3 separate regions of the Homo sapiens genome follow, and all the other regions are linked to region 1. Evidence: promoter capture Hi-C in human tissues and cell types (Jung and others, 2019). All regions are on one chromosome and are shown on one strand. Each heading gives the region's core, a stretch centred on a gene start or on the middle of the fragment in contact. The rest is flanking DNA. Distances are from core to core; before and after follow the strand shown. Region 1 holds the start of GPR3 (G protein-coupled receptor 3). Region 2 overlaps SLC9A1 (solute carrier family 9 member A1). Region 3 overlaps FAM76A (family with sequence similarity 76 member A).

Region 1 (2,700 bases), core at 16-2,515:
GCCCCTCTGCTGGGCCCACGCTGCTTACATTCACGTTGCCTGAGCCAGCTGAGAGCCAGGCCAGAGGGCTGCCTGCACCCCACATCATGGTACCTGCAGGAGAAAGGCCTTGTGAGAAGCTGACCAAGCTGGGTGATGGGAGTTGGGGTCTGGAGGGGGTGAGGTGCTTCTCAGGATACGTGGTGGGAGTCTCTCCTCAGGATACCTGATAGGGTCCCAATGCCTTATCCCCACATTCATGCCCTGGGGCTCTTCCCAGGATACCGCTGTCCCCTCCAATGCCCCCAGGCCTCTAAACAGGGGTCTCTTCCTGGGGATCCCTGTCCTAGGTCCTGCAGGTCTCTTTTTCCCACGTGTGTGACCAGAGGAGAGACAGAAGAAGGGGTACTATAAGTGGAAGAGGGCCATAGGATCCAGGGGATGCCCCCGAAGGCTCAAGATTGGGGTAGGGAAACATCTACCCCATCAGGGAGACTGAGCAGCTCCGCTCCCTCCCATCAGAGATGATGATGCTAGCTCGTGCCTGAGGCTCCCAGACCCCTCACGATTTTCAGTACTGCCAGCCTTAGACTCCGCCCCCAGGGAATGCGCGTGAAGCTCCCGCCAGCCATCACCCCGCACTCCCGCGGTAACACCTGGGAACTCAGCCCCCCACCCCCCACCCTCCCAGACTTCTGTTCCTGGCTGGACCCTTCTTTCCGCCTGAATCTCTAGGTCTCTGGGCAGACCCCCCTGCTGGAAGACTGGATCCCTGAGTCAGATGCCTCCTTCTGCCCGGACACCTGGATTTTGGGCCTGACTCTGCCTCCTGCCTGGATACCTGGATTCCTAAATTGGACACCTCCTGCTGTTCGGACCCCTGGGTCCCTGCCCCAGACGCCTCCTGCCGGCTTAACCTCAGATGACCATCAGTCCCTCCAGGGCCTCGGGTCCCTGCAGGAATGCTTACCCTTCGCCGGGTCATCCAACTCAACCCCAGCACTCGAGCACTTGGGCCCAAGCCTGCTAACCCAGAATCGCCTAAACCCAGAATTCCCACCTCGAACTCGAACCCCGGCCGGCCACTAGGAGCCTTCCGCCGGCCCAGTGCCCCAGCATCCTGCGTGCCCTTCAGGACCCCTGGTGCCCGCGGCGGGGCCCGCTACTCACCGCTCAGGACCAGGCGCGGCCGGGCCGCGGGGAGGCTCCGCTCGGGTCCTGGCGGCGCAGGGCGTGCGTGGACCCCGAGAAGCCCCCGCGGCCGCGGGAGAAGCGGCGTGAGTCACCCCGCCCCGCCCCCGGCCACCGGTTCGGTGACGTCAGCGGTCCGATCAGCCAATGGGCGCGGCGCGCTGGGGCGCAGCGCGCGTTGCGCGGCATAGTAATAAGGCCTCGCACCGCCCGCTCCCCCATTCATAAAAAGCGACCGTGGCTGCGGCCCCGCCCCCTCCCGAGTCCGCCCGCGCTGTCCTTGACGCGGCGCCCTCTGCGGGCCGGGGGTTTCAGAGGCGCCGGTGCGAGAGCCTTGAAGTCTCAGAGAGGCTGCAGGGAACGTGGTGGAAGAGTGGAAAGGGGGCCCGGCTAGGCTGTGGGGTGATGGGACCCTTGGGTGGCAGAGAGGCTGACGAGATCCAGGTGACGAAGGAAGAGCTTGTGATGGGGCTGGTTGGGCTTCCCTGGTGAGAATGACAGGGTTTCCAAGATGATGGGGCCCTGAGGTGACGATGACAGGGAGCACGAGGGAGCGGGGAGGTGGGTGGCAGTGACGACATTAGCATGGTGACAGAATCTTGGGGTGGGGGGTGATGGCCGTGGGACGCTAACGGTAGAGGGGAAGCCCTCAGGGCAACCATGGCAGTGTCAGGGTGACTATGCAGCAGGGGGGAGTTCAGGGACCCCGGGATGGCAGAGGCAGCGGCCTGGGAACATGGAGTGTCCAGGTGACTTCAGGTCACCATTACCCTGTCAGAATGGCTGGGGTACTGAAGCGACAATGCTAAGCCATGAGGACTGTGGGGCCCTGGAACGAAGATAGCAGGTGGCTGTGGTGAGTGGGCTCCAGGGTGAGGGGCACAGGGTAGAGGGTCTGGACTGACAGTGACCAGGCAGGTAAGTTGCTGCCAGGGCAAGTCCCGTGATGCCGGGGCTGGGATAAGAGCTGGGTGACGTCACTCATGTCAGCCCAATAGCGCCCTCACAGCACCGGAGGGGTGGGCCTGGCAAGATTTCAAAACCTGAATTATTTATTCCAGTATCTAGAAAGCCAGCGTGGAGGGGGTGAGGGGTGCACTTCCCTGAAGCAGGAGGAGATGGGGAGCCGGGAAGAACTTGGAAGCAGAAAGCCTGGCAGCTCAGTCCTCAGGGCAGGCCCCTCTCAGCCTCCTATTTTAGGCATCCTGATGGGTGGAGCAAGGAGAAAGAGCTCCCTCTTCCCCAACGCCATCTGCCCTTAGTCCAGGGGAACCACTCTGGGCAGACTTCTCCAGATGTGACAGATGTGGCCAGTCCTGCGGCAGGGGGACTGGCTGCTCCTTCTCCCTGTGTCTCTTGCCTTGATGCTCCCTGGAATCATGCAGGCCTGTGGGAGGGGAAGATGAGGTTAAGAGGCCTGAGGATCCCAGGCCCCACTGGACACCCCCATCACAGCACCATCACTGCAGCCCCCATGGTCAGCCTCCACCAGGCAGGTTTTGGGTTTGAGTGTGAGGCAGCAGAAGGTCA
Region 2 (2,700 bases), core at 87-2,586, 260 kb after region 1:
GCAGTGTCCTCTAAAGGGCAGCCTCCTCTGAGCATGCTCAGTTCTCCTATCCACTCTACATCTCGTGGCTCCTAGAGGCCTGAAGTGACAAACTATCCCCAGTGTGGTGGGAGAGGAGGCAGGGAGAGGCCCTCCAAGCATGCCCTGTCTCTCCCACCACACAGAGCCCAGCCAGCTGGATCGTTATCAGAAGTGTATGGGAGACCCTTAGGGGACCCCCTTGAGATAGAGGATCCAGTATCAGGAAAGCTCACCCATCTTGCTGGTATTGTGCAGGAGGCAGTGCCTGCTGCCCATGGAGCCTTAATGCTGTGCAGTTGGACAGCTTCCCCCTCAGGTGCCTGTTTAGGAGAAGCTCTTGCCTCCCTAGTGCTGCCAGCTTGCCTCTGGGACCCTGCCGCTGCTGGTTTCTGGGAATCTAGATCTGCACGGGAGTGTCTGGCATGCGTGCGTGCGTGCATGCATTTGTTTGTTTGTTTGTTTGTTTGTTTATGGAGTTTCCCTCTTTTTGCCCAGGCTGGAGTGCAATGGCGTGAGGATCTCGGCTCACTGCAACCTCCACCTCCTGGGTTCAAGTGATTCTCCTGCCTCAGCCTCCCAAGTAGCTGGGATTACAGGCATGCACCACTACGCCCGGCTAATTTTGTATTTTTAATAGAGATGGGGTTTCACCATGTTGGCCAGGCTGGTCTCAAACTCCTGACCTCAGGTGATCCGCCCGCCTTGGCGTCTCAAAGTGCTGGGATTATAGGCATGAGCCACCACGCCTGGCCTTTTTTTTTTTTTTTTTTAAAGACAGGGTCTCACCCTGTTGCCCAGGATAGAGTGCAGTTGGCATGATCTCGGCTCACTGAAACCTCAACCTCCCGGGCTCAGGTGATCCTCCCACCTCAGCCTCCCTAGTAGCTGGGACTACAGGTATGCACCAGCCATGCCCAACTAATTTTTAAATTTTTTGTAGAGATGGGTTTTGCCACGTTACCCAGGCTGCTCTCAAACTCCTGGGCTCAAGTGATCCTCTCGCCTCGGCCTCCCCCGCTGCTGGGATTCAGGTGTGAGCCACCTCCCCTGGCCTGGGCATATATTTTTGTTTTTGCTTTTTTCTGAGTGTTTCTGTCTCTGTTCTCTCCTCTTACAGCAACGCTGTGCCATAGACATTCTTTATCCCAATGTTAGAAAGGAAGAAACTGAGGTTCAGGGCAGTACCGTGATTTGCCTTATTAGGTCACAGAGAAGTTAAGATTTAGAATTGGGACAGAAACTACCTCCCTCATTGATGGACCAGAGCTCTTTACGCTGCCCGCTGCTGCCTCGTGCAAGCTTGCTATGGCACGAATGCTATTCTGTACCCAGATGCCACAGTTGCTGGCATGGACAGAGATGGTGAGTATCACAGAGCCCGACTTTGTCCAGCTGCAGAGTTCATCAGTCAGATGTCAGAGGTAGAGAGGCTCTCAACAAGCCCCCAAGGATGGAGAGACTGAGACCAAAGAGAAGCAACGGCTTGTTCAAAGCCCACAGAATGTTAGTGGCTGAGTCTAGACTGAAGCCCAGTTCCCCTGATCCCCAGCCTGGGCTTGACTCAGGCCTTTCTTTTCTCAGAATTGTAGTTTTCTGGTCTTTTGAGGCATTTGGAGGTAGGATGGAGGGGGTGCTCACCCATCCTGCTGGTATTGTGCAGGAGGCAGTGCCAGCTGTCCCTGGAGCTGAGACTAAATGGCTGTGCATTTGGACAACTTTGCCCTATGCCAGGTGCTGAGCCTGGGTGGCCAGCGCTGTCTCCCTTGACCACCTCCCTGAAGTGGCAGAATTTCATGTTGTTCCCCAGGCCAGAGCCCTCCAGTGGCTCTGCCTGGCTCAGCAGGGTGATTGGGAATTCTCTCCCTGCAGGGTATTTGTGGCCTTTCATAACTGGCCTTGGCTGAGCGCTGGATTGGGAGTCAGTAGTTCTGGGTTTGGGACCTGCCTCCGCTGCTACCCATGTGATCTTGGGCCTGTGTCTGGACCTCTCTCAATGTCTGTTCTCTCATCTGTTGCCCACTGCCAGGGCATGTTGTGAGGGCGAGAGAAAAGTCTGCTTTACAGCATCTAAGTAATGATTTCCACTCCAGTCCACTGCCATTTGCTCCAATAGAAAGCCTCTACCTGGGCTGGGCTCAGTGGCTCACGCCTGTAATCTCAGCACTTTGGGAGGCAAAGCAGGCAGATCTCTTGAGCTCAGGAGTTTGAGACCAGCCTGGGCAACATGGCAAAACCCCTATCTCTACAAAAAATACAAAAACTAGCTAGGCATGGTGGCACGCGCCTGTAGTCCCAGTTACATGGGGGGCTGAGGTGAGAGAATCACTTGAGCCCAGGAAGTCAAGGCTGCAGTGAGCCATGTTCGTACCACTGCACTCCAGCCTGGGCAACACAGCCAGACTCTGTTTTCCCTGCCCCCTCCCCCCGCAAAAAATAAATCTTCTACCTGTACCACACTCGTTTCCCTGTCCTGTCTTTCCAGATGCTGCTGATTTGCCTGCCAGGCCTTCTTGGTGCCTAACTCTCACCCTTCCTTCAAGGAAAAGGCCAATTCAGCTGGAGCTTAGTGTCCATGTGCTTAGTGCCAAACACTGGAGATTAAGTTAAACCCAAAAATATATACACAAAAGGGAAGGAAAAAAAGTTAAACCAGACATGACTTCTGCCCTCAAACAGTTC
Region 3 (2,700 bases), core at 77-2,576, 370 kb before region 1:
CTCTAATGGACAGGAAATTCCCAATTAGCAGTTAGGCTTTTAATTTTTTAAGTCTATAAGCAAGACAAACTTTTCTAGGCTGAAGGGCTGAAGGGGATAACGGGGTATGTCTACTGGTAAACAGCAAGAAATAAAAACAAAATCCAACAATTACACTTGAGTCAATATGAATTTTTATTAACACACATTTGTCAAAGTCTGTACAAACCAAAACATTCCTGTGTTTTAAAATGTCCATTATTACAAACATACAAAGAAACAAAAGGTGTTACCAAAAGTTAGCTACTCAATTTCATGGTAAAACAGTGTCATGATTTTTAAAAATCAAAATTTCAAGACTGAGGTTTCTTCTTTCCCTTTTTGGAACTTATGGAAAGTTAGAAAACGTGTGAATTTGCTTTATATTAAATGCCAAGACCTTAAAAAAAGATTTAGTATAAAACTAAGTATGTTTTTATATTGTCATACATCATGTAACAGAATTTCAGTCCTTAAAATTAAAAAAAAACACCATGACTGTCATTTCCCCCTAATTTTTCTCCCATAGTCAATGCAAATGCATCTGAAAAATATTATGACAGTTTATCTTTACCTAAAAGCTTCTCATTCAAAAACTTTACAAAACTATTTAGCACTGCCATTTCCCTTGCTTAGAAGGGAAAATTATATCCCCTAGTAGGGTGATATATAAGCGACATGGTCCACTGTATCCCTTATCAGAAGGAAACCACCATTTCCACATCTCTGTCCAATTATGTGTAGGACTCCATTTATGAGAATGCTATCACAAATTATAGAGCATCTGCTTCCAGGAAACGCCTAGAAGTTAAATTTAGTACTATAATTTTTTGGTAGACTGAGGTACAAATGTTATCTGCCCTCATTATTATTTCTAACTCTAGTACCCCCTGCATAAATGATTCTAGGGTAGTTGGTTTTGTTGTTTCATGGCACACATGACACACCCTAATTCCTTTCACAAACATCACATAGAGGACCTGAGAGTATGCCTAGAAATGTAAATCTATCCCCTTTCCTGGAAAAGTAAATCCATATTCCTACAGGGTTAAGAAGGGAAGATAGGCAGGGCATACATAACTCTGGTTGAGGCAAAGTGCTTCTGAGAAGCACCTGTTTTCAATACATATCCATGAAAAGCAGGGAGTGTATGGGCTCGGGTGGGTGAGGAGTGGGGAGAAGGTATAGTGATACCACTTTTCCCAGACTCAAGAGTCCTTACTAGAGCAGCTCATGCTGACCCCAAAAATGCTCTGTAGTTCAAATATTATTCCTTTTTTTTTTTTTTTTGAGACGGAGTCTCACTCCATTGCCCAGGCTGCAGTGCAGTGTTGCGATTTCAGCTCATTGCAACCTCTGCCTCCCGGGATTCGAGCAGTTCTCCTGCCTCAGCCTCCTGGGTAGCTGGGATTACAGGTGCATGCCACCAGGCCCGGCTAATTTTTGTATTTTTTTAGTACAGATGGGGTTTTACCATGTTGGCCAGGATGGTCTCAAACTCCTAACCTCAAATGATCCACCCGCCTTGGCCTCCCAAATTGCTGGTATTACAGGCGTGAGCCACCGCACCCGACCATATTATTCCATTTTTAATCTGTTCATTCATGTAAAAAAACATTCTCTGACAGCAGCCCAGTATGACAACTGATATAAGCAAATAAAGGATTTTATTTTTTAAAGAAGTGGCAGTGTGAGAATTTAAAATCAATCACATAAAACAATCAGGAAAGGGGTGGGGAGAGAAGTGTCCAGTACAACCTGGACAACCTTGCTTTCTGCCCTTACTTAAAAAGACAGACGGTTCAAATCTTTGCTACCTCCCTTAAGTATCTCCATAAATGCTCTTCCAAGAAATCCTCCAAAAGGCACTTAGCTCCATACTTATGCATTGAATTGTTTCACCTTAGCAATCAGTTTTTAAGACTCCAAGGTAACAAGAAAGAAAAGATCTGATTCTTTTACTAAAAGCTAGTGAATAGGACTGTTTTTTTTTCAAGAGGCATCACTTTTACAAGAACTAGCTAGACCACCATTATTCCTTTATCAAGAAAAAGTTTCTTTTTTAAAAAATAAATAAAACTCTGGCTATACATAGTACAAAGTTCATACATAATACATCTGGAAAAAAACCGAAGAGTATACCCTGAAGCAAAAGGTTTATTGGAGAGAGAAAGCCTCTTCCATTATACCAAGTCTGAAGATGGCAGTTTTCAAAGTTCAGAGGGTGGCAGTGATATATAATTAATGCCAAACTGTTTGCTCATGGGTATGGCAGGATGCAATGAAGGACCAAAAAAAAAAAAAAAAACAAAAAACAAATCATTCTGCACATTACACTGAGCAGTGACCACCACAAAAAAAAAAAAAAAAAAAAAAAGAAAAAAGAAAAAAAAAGAATAGAACCAAAATAGAGAGAAGAGGAAGAAGAAAAAGAAAAGTCCTAATAGTGAGAGAAAGAGAGCGAGCTTGAAATCCCAAACACTCAAGCATGCAGTCTAACACAGCACAAACCAGGTGTTTCCATTCAGCCCACTGCAATCGCACAAAGAAGGATAACTGTAATAAAATAGAGATTTCTTAAGAAAGCTTGCAATTCCCACAGAACAGCCAGGTCTCCAACCCTAACCCTGGACAACTCCATTTGCTGTTGCTAGGGAGCCTCCTTGAGGTCTGTCATGGAGA

The links. The method cuts DNA at HindIII sites, captures the fragments that hold promoters and counts their contacts. A contact is called where the count stands out against the background at its distance.
Region 2: a fragment that was not itself captured here is called in contact with the fragment with the promoter of GPR3 in region 1 in 3 of the 25 tissues and cell types used here (liver, mesenchymal stem cells and spleen).
Region 3: a fragment that was not itself captured here is called in contact with the fragment with the promoter of GPR3 in region 1 in 3 of the 25 tissues and cell types used here (dorsolateral prefrontal cortex, hippocampus and lymphoblastoid cells).

Annotation. Positions count from the first base shown.
Region 1 is chr1:27,391,187-27,393,886 of GRCh38, reverse strand. It overlaps GPR3 (G protein-coupled receptor 3), which reads right to left and starts at 1,265. Exons shown (of 2, transcript NM_005281.4): 1 at 1,150-1,265; 2 at 1-93. The coding sequence starts at 88. RefSeq lists enhancers at 503-1,038, 1,576-2,112, 2,113-2,649 and a silencer at 1,062-1,561. The HindIII fragment of the contact is 10,052 bases long and covers 1-2,700 here.
Region 2 is chr1:27,126,749-27,129,448 of GRCh38, reverse strand. All of the region lies in intron 1 of SLC9A1 (solute carrier family 9 member A1), which reads left to right. Among named protein-coding and RNA genes, the nearest start is that of SLC9A1, 27 kb to the left of the region's middle. The HindIII fragment of the contact is 6,234 bases long and covers 1-2,700 here.
Region 3 is chr1:27,760,573-27,763,272 of GRCh38, reverse strand. FAM76A (family with sequence similarity 76 member A) reads right to left here. Exons shown (of 9, transcript NM_152660.3): 9 at 157-2,700. The coding sequence ends at 2,692. Among named protein-coding and RNA genes, the nearest start is that of STX12, 11 kb to the left of the region's middle. The HindIII fragment of the contact is 6,157 bases long and covers 1-2,700 here.